2 separate regions of the Homo sapiens genome follow, and region 2 is linked to region 1. The links are contacts of gene promoters, found by promoter capture Hi-C in human tissues and cell types (Jung and others, 2019). All regions are on one chromosome and are shown on one strand. The core of a region is centred on a gene start or on the middle of the fragment in contact, and the rest is flanking DNA. Distances in the headings are between cores, read along the strand shown. Region 1 holds the start of NANOS2 (nanos C2HC-type zinc finger 2). Region 2 has its middle 5.9 kb from the start of IGFL4.

Region 1 (3,950 bases), core at 1,009-3,508:
GCCAGCTAATTTTTGTATTTTTAGGAAAGACGGGGTTTCACCATGTTGCCAAGGCTGGTCTCAACCTCCTGACCTCATGATCCGCCCACCTCAGCCTCCCAAAGTGCTGGGATTACAGGCGTGAGCCACTGTGCCCATCCTGCTAATTTTTGTATTTTTAGTAGAGATGGGGGTGGTTTCACCATCTTGGCCAGGTTGGTCTCGAACTCCTGACCTCAGGTGACCCACCCACCTCGGCCTCTCAAAGTGCTGGGATTACAGGCATGAGCCACCACACCCAGCCACAGTTTCCATATCCTGTGTTCCTCTTCCTGGAAGATTCTTCTTAGTGGTCTCAGCTTCCAAGTCCCATTCCTGAGCCAGCCACTCTTAGAACACCCGGTTCACAGGCCAGCAGGTCTTTACAGTCTAGCGTTTTCTCATTTACTGGTCGCTCTCCTGAACTCGTTCATGAAGCAGGCATAAGGTAGCCTTGGTCACTGCTGAATTTCCAGCACCCAATATGGAGCCTCAGTAACTATGTGTTGAATATCAAGGTGGCCCATGGAGACTGTGGGTGGAAGAAGAACCCCAGGTGCGGTGGGCGGGAGATGAGGCTTTTGCTCGTTCCAAAGGCCAGGAAGGATTTAAGACAATGGATGGGGCCAAGAAAGGGCTATTTTTTTTTTTTTTTTAGAGAGACAGGGTTGGCCAGACGCAGTGGCTTATGCCTGTAATCCCAGCACTTTGGGAGACCGAGGCAGGTGAATCACACCTGAGGTCAGGAGTTCCAGACCAGCTTGTCCAACATGTCAAAATCCCATCTCTACTAATACAAAAAATTAGCCAGGTGTGGTGGTGGGCACCTGTAATCCCAACTACTTGTGAGGCTGAGGCAGGAGAATCACTTGAACCTGGGAGGCGGAGATTGCAGTAAGCCAAGATTGTGCCACTGCACTACAGCTTGGGTGACAGAGCAAGACTCCATCTCATAAAAAAAAAGACAGGGTCCACTCTGTAGCCCAGGCTGGACTGCAGTGGCACAATCATGGCTCACTGAAGCCTAAACCTCCTGGGCTCAAGTGATCTTCCTGCCTCAGCCTCCTCACTAGCTAGGATTACAGGCACATGCCACCATGCCCAGCTGATTTTGTATTATATGTAGAAACAGGGTCTCACTATGTTACCCAGGCTGGTCTCAAACTTCTGGCTTCAAGTGATTCTCTAGCCTCAGCCTCCCAAAATATTAGGATTACAGGCGTGAGCCAGCATGCCTAGCCCAAGAGGGGGCATTCTAAGTGAGATTGTTCTGTGCCAAGTTCCTCTGCCACTTTTAACATCAATTCCCAGTTCCCAGAGTGATTATGAAACCCGACTCTGCCATTTCCTTGTTGTGTGACCTTGGATACATTCCTTAACCTCTCCAAGCTTCATATCTTTCTCTGTAAAATGAAAATACTAGGCCGGGTGCGGTGGCTCACGCCTGTAATCCCAGCGCTTTGGGAGGCAGAGACAGGTGGATCACCTGAGGTCAGGAGTTCGAGACCAGCCTGGCCAATATGGTGAAACCCTGTCTCTGCTAAAAATACAAAAAAAAAAAAAAAAAAAATTAGCCAGGCTTAGTGGTGGGCGCCTGTAATCCCAGCTACTCAGGAGGCTGAGGCAGGAGAATCACTTGAACCCAGGAGGCAGAGGTTGCAGTGAGCTGAGATCGTGCCATTGCACTCCAGCCTGGGCGACATAGCAAGACTCCGTCTCAAGTAAATAAATAAATAAAATAAATCAGGTCATGTTGTTATTATTATTTTTGTCTTTTTATTTTTTGTAGAGACAAGGTCTCGCTATTTTGCCCACGCTGGCCTAGAGGTCCTGGGCTCAAGCGATCCTCTTTCCTCAGCCTCCCAAAGTGCCAGGATTACAGGTGTGAGGCACTGCGCCCAGCCTGGCTGCTATGATGATTAGGAATAACTCTGAAGTCTATGAAGGGTGCAGCCCCTCCAGCCTAGGGGTGGGGGATATTTGCAGACATGGACTTTCTTTGAACAGATAGGGAAACTGAGGCACAGAGAATGGAAGTGTCTTCCCAGAGGTCACAGAGCACCTTGGCAGCAGAGCTGGGACCAGAGATCAGGGGAATGACCTCCTTCCACATCTCTGTGAAGAACTAAAGTCAGATGGGGGTTATGGGCAGGGAGTGAGCCCTTTAAATCCTAAGCTCCACCTTTACTTAGAAGAGTCTCTGGGCGTTATAAAAGGGGATGCAGCTCCCTTCTGCTCTGGGAAACGCCTGCTGCTCTTGCCCTTGCCCACGGGCCCCCAGCCCCAGCCCCTCTCCTGTGGCCCACCACCCCTGCTTTGGTGCCATGCAGCTGCCACCCTTCGACATGTGGAAGGACTACTTCAACCTGAGCCAGGTGGTGTGGGCGCTGATCGCAAGTCGGGGTCAAAGGCTGGAGACCCAAGAGATTGAGGAGCCAAGTCCCGGGCCTCCGCTGGGGCAGGATCAGGGGCTGGGGGCGCCAGGGGCCAACGGGGGCCTGGGGACCCTGTGCAACTTCTGCAAGCACAACGGGGAGTCCCGCCACGTCTACTCCTCACACCAGCTGAAGACACCGGATGGCGTGGTGGTGTGTCCCATCCTGAGGCACTACGTGTGTCCCGTGTGCGGGGCCACCGGTGACCAGGCCCATACGCTCAAGTACTGCCCGCTTAACGGTGGCCAGCAGTCCCTCTACCGCCGCAGCGGGCGCAACTCGGCCGGACGCAGGGTCAAGCGCTGAGCATCGTGAGATGCTCACCACCCGCACCCCTGACCCTCCTGGTCCATCCCACCCAAGTCCCTAAACTCTCTCTTCCAGTCACCCAGCCCTTTGGAATTTCTGGCCCCCAGAACTCCACCCTGGCTGGATCCTGAAACAGTGGAGGCTGCTGGGAGCCAGGCCAGCCCCGCCCCCTTGGACCTGTCAGCCCTCGGAGCTCTGGCCTGTGGGCGTTGGCCTGAGGGTCCTTGGTGCCGCGGGAACCCTTCCTGCACGGCCCTGTAGCGCCCTCTGGGCCCCGGTTCATGGATCTTTTGTCCTCGTGGGGCCTGCTGGTGACTGGAGCCCTGCCCCTTCGACTTCTCTGTTCCTTGTGGAGTTCTTGGATTTTTGAACCTCCAGGATTCCACGGTGCTGTCCCAAGCCAGCCCTTAGGAGATACTGAACAAGGCTGGCTGAGAAGTGCCTACTCAAGAACTTCAAGATGGGATGTCGACTTAAGACCAGCCTTCTCCATCTTCAGCCTCCTGCAGAACCACGGTGTCATCGTGGACCACGCCTGTTCATTCCTTCCCTGACCTCAGTACCCATCCGTCAGGAGCGGAGTAGGACTCTGGAGAGCACCGTATCACTGGAGGGCACCGTGTCTTCGCAGGCTCACCTGTGGATGGAGAGCCGTGGGGTGAGCTGACACCTTTCAATGCCCCCTGGTTGTTCTTCCCCTTGTTCAGCCCATTGCACCCGGTACCTGCCCCCATCCCCAAATCACCGATGGGTCCTTTCCCCCAGCGAGAAGCATATCTCTCGACCACCTCCCGTCCGACCCCCCAAATCGTGATAGTTGACTAAAGGACATTTTTTTTTCCTCCTGTGTTTTTCAACCTCCAACGTTCAAGTCAAGGAACCGCCGATAAGAAGGGGGTTTGAGTACCCGGATGGGAATGGCAATGGCCTAGCTTTTATTTTAGGGGCAAAGAGAAGAAGGGCCCCCGTCAGATTTTAAGTTGTTCAGTTTTTGGCACAGGGTCGGGACCCTGAGTATTGAGCTCTGGTGAATAAAAAGGTTTTCTAGTCGTCTTTGAAATGGCTGTATCTGTTTCCGTCTTTGGTTTGTTTGTGAGACAAGGTCTTGCTCTGTCGCCCAGGCTGGAGTGCAGTGGTGCGATCTTGGCTCACTGCCCGGATTCAAGTGATTATCCTCCCTCAGCCTCT
Region 2 (3,950 bases), core at 1,063-3,562, 130 kb before region 1:
TCAATAGTAGTTTAATGGGAATAGCATTGAATCTATAAGTTACTTTGAGCAGTATGGCCATTTTCACAGTATTCATTCTTCACATCCATGAGCATAGAGTGTTTTTCCATTTATTTGTGTCCTATCTGATTTTTTTTGAGCAGTGATTTGTAGTTCTCCTTGAAGAGGTCCTTCACTTTCCTTGTTAGCTGTATTCTTAGGTATTTTATTCTTTTTGTAGCAATTGTGAATGAGAGTTCATTCGTGATTTGGCTCTCTGCTTGCCTGTTGTTGGTGTATAGGAATGCTAGCAATTTTTGCTCATTGATTTGGTATCCTGAGACTGCTGAAGTTGCTTATCACCTTAAGAAGCTTTTGGGCTGAGATGATGAGGTTTTTCTAGATATAGGATTATGTATCTGCAAACAAGATAATTTGACTTCCTCTCTTCCTATTTGAATACGCTTTATTTCTTTCTCTAGCCTAATTGCCCTGGCCAGAACTTCCAATACTATGTTGAATAGGAGTGGTGAGAGAGGGCATTTTTGTCTTGTGCCAGTTTTCAAGGGGAATGCTTCAAGCTTTTACCCATTCAGTATGATATTGGCTGTGAGTTTGTCATATATGGCTTCTATTATTTTGAGGTACGGTCCTTCAATACTTAGTTTATTGAGAGTTTTTAACATAAAGGGATGTTTAAATTTTATCAAAAGCCTTTTCTGCATCTATTGAGATAATCATGTGTGTTTTGTTTTTAGTTCTGTTTATACGATGAATCACATTTGTTGCTTTGCGTATGTTGAACCAACCTTGCATCCCAGGGATGAAGCCAATGTGGTCATGGTGGATAAGCTTTTTGCTGTGCTGCTGGATTTGGTTTGCCAGTATTTTACTGAGGTTTTTTGCATTGATGTTCATCAAGGATATTGGCCTGAAGTTTTCTTATTTTGTTGTATCTCTGCCAGGTTTTGGTATCAGGATGATGCTGGGCTCATAGGATGAATTAGGGAGGAATCCCTCACTTTCAATTTTTTGGAATAGTTTCCGTAGAAATTGTACCAGATCTTTGTACTTCTGGTAGAATTCAGCTGTGAATGCTTCCAACTTTGGGCTTTTTTTGGTTGGTAGGCTATTTATTACCCCCCAATTTCGGAAATCATAATTGGTCTATTCAGGGATTCAGTTTCTTCTTGGTTTAGTCTTGGGAGGGTGTATGTGTCTAGGGATGTATCCATTTCTTCTAGATTTTCTAGTTTATGTGCATAAAGGTGTTTATAGTATTCTGTGATGTTTGTTTATATTTCCGTGGGGTCAGTGGTAATATCTCCCTTGTCATTTCTGATTATGTTTATTTGATTATTCTCTCTTTTCTTCTTCATTAGTCTGGCTAGCAGTCTATCTATTTTATAAATTTTTTCAAAAAAACAGCTCCTGGATTCATTAATTTTTTGAAGGGCTTTTTGTGTTTCTATCTCCTTCAGTTATTGCTTATTTCTGTTAACCAATAACTTATCTTGGTTATTTCTTGTTTTCTGCTAGCTTTGGGGTTGGTTTGCTCTTGGTTCTCTAGTTCTTTTAGTTGAGATGTTAGGTTGTTAACTTGAGATCTTTCTAGCTTTCTGATGTGGGTTATTTATTGCTATAAATTTCCCTCTTAACACCACTTGAGCTGTGTCCCAGAGAATCGGGTACATTGTCTCTTAGTTCTCATTAGTTTCAAGAATTTCTTGCTTTCTGCCTTGATTTCATTATTTACCCAAGAGTTATTCAGGAGCAGATTGTTCAGTTTCCATGTAGTTGTGTGGTTTTGAGTGAATTTTTAAATCTTGATTTCTAATTTGTTGTGCTGTGGTCTGAGAGACTGTTTGTTATGACTTCAGTTCTTTTGCTTTTGCGAGGAGTGTTTTACTTCTGATTTTGTGATCAATTTTAGAGTGAGTGCCATGTGGCAATGAGAAGAATGTATATTCTGTTGTTTGGGGTAGAGAGTTCTGTAGATATCTATCAGGTCCACTTGATCCAGAGCTGAGTTCAGGTCCTGAATATCTTTGTTAATTTTCTGTCTCGATGATCTAATATTGACAGTGGGTGTTAAAGTATTCCACTATTGTTGTGTGGGAGTCTTAAGTCTCTTGTAGATCTGTAAGAACTTGCTTTATGAATCTGGGTTCTCCTGTATTGGATGCATATATATTTAGGATACTTAGCTCTTCTTGTCCAATTGATCCCTTTACCATTATGTAACACCCTTCTTTGTCTTTCTGGATTTTTGTTGGTTTAAAGTCTGTTTGGTCAGAAACTAGGGTTGCAACCCATGCTTTTTTCTGTTTTCCATTTCCTTGATAAATTTCTCCTCCATCCCTTTATTTTGAGCCTATGTGTGTCCCACATGTGAGATGGGTCTCTCGAAGACAGTATATCAATGGGTCTTGGCTCTTTATCCAACTTGCCATTCTGTGTCTTTTAATTCAGGAATTTAGCCCACTTACATTTAAGGTTAGTATTGTTATGTGTGAATTTGTTCCTGTCATCATGATGCTAGCTGGTTATTTTACAGACTTGTTTTGTTGGTTGCTTCATAGTGTTACTTGTCTGTGTATTTCAGTGTGTTTTTGTAGTGGCTGGTAAAGGTTTTCCCTTTCCATATTTATTGCTTCCTTCAGGAGCTCTTGCAAGGCAGGCTTGGTGGTGACGAATTCCCACAGCATTTGCTTGTCTGAAAAGGACCTTATTTCTCCACTTATGAAGCTTAGTTTGGCTGGATATGAAATCCTGGGTTGGAAATTCTTTTAAGAATGTTGAATATTGGCCCCCAATCTCTTCTGGCTTGTAGGATTTCCACTGAGAGGTCCGCTGGTAGTCTGATGGGCTTTTCTTTGTAGGTTACCTGGCCTTTCTCTCTGGCTGCCCTTAACATTTTTTCTTTCATTTCGACAATGAAGAATCTGCTGATTATATGTCTTGGGGTAAATCTTCTTATGGAGTATCTCACTGGGGTTCTCTGTATTTACTGAATTTGAATGTTGGCCTGTCTTGCAAGTTTGGGGAAGTTCTCCTGGATGATATCCTGGAGTATGTTTTCCAACTTGGTTCCAATTTCCCTGTCTCTTTCAGGTACCCCAATCAGTCATAGATTCTGTCTCTTTACATATTTCTCAGAGGTTTTGTTCAGTTCTTTTTGTTCTTTTTTCTCTATTCTTGTCTGCCTGTATAATTTCAGAAGGACGGTCTTTAAGCTCTGAAATTCTTTCCTCTGCTTGAACTATTCTGTAACTGATACTTATGATTGCATTGTGAAGTTCTTGTGTTTTCCAGTTCCATTGGGTCAGTTATGTTCCTCTCTAAACTGGCTATTCTGTCAGCTCCTGTATAATTTATCATGATTCTTAGCTTATTTGCAATGGGATACAACATCCTCCTTTAGCTCAGTGAAGTTCATTATTACCCATCTTTTTCTTTTTTTTTTTTGAGACAGAGTTTCACTCTTGTCACCCAGGCTGGAGTGCAGTGGCGCGATCTCAGCTCACTGTAACCTCTGCCTCCCGGGTTCAAGCGATTCTCCTGCCTCAGCCTCCTCAGCATCTGGGATTATAGGCATGTGCCACCATGCCCAGCTAACTTTTGTATTTTTAGTAGAGAGGGGGTTTCACCATGTTGGTCAGGCTGGTCTCTAACTCCTGACCTCGTGATCCACCTGCCTCGGCCTCCCAAAGTGCTGGGATTAAAGGTGTGAGCCACTGCGCCTGGCCTATTACCCACCTTCTTAAAACTACTTCTGTTAATTCAGCCATCTCGGTCTCAGCCCAGTTCTGTGCCCTTGCTGGAGAGGTACTGTGGTCATTTGGAAGAGAAGAAGCACTCTGGCTTTTTGAGTTTTCAGCATTTTTGCATTGATTCTTTCTCATCTGTGTGGGTTTACCTTTGATTTTTGAAGTTGCTGACCTTTGAATGAGGTTTCTGTGGGGTCTTTT

What was found. The method cuts DNA at HindIII sites, captures the fragments that hold promoters and counts their contacts. A contact is called where the count stands out against the background at its distance.
Region 2: a fragment that was not itself captured here is called in contact with the fragment with the promoter of NANOS2 in region 1 in 1 of the 25 tissues and cell types used here (IMR-90 fibroblasts).

Annotation. Positions count from the first base shown.
Region 1 is chr19:45,913,086-45,917,035 of GRCh38, reverse strand. It overlaps NANOS2 (nanos C2HC-type zinc finger 2), which reads left to right and starts at 2,258. Exons shown (of 1, transcript NM_001029861.3): 1 at 2,258-3,822. The coding sequence starts at 2,343. The coding sequence ends at 2,759. The HindIII fragment of the contact is 8,608 bases long and covers 1-3,950 here.
Region 2 is chr19:46,044,941-46,048,890 of GRCh38, reverse strand. It overlaps a transcript of IGFL4 not described here. Among named protein-coding and RNA genes, the nearest start is that of IGFL4, 5.9 kb to the right of the region's middle. The HindIII fragment of the contact is 3,232 bases long and covers 697-3,928 here.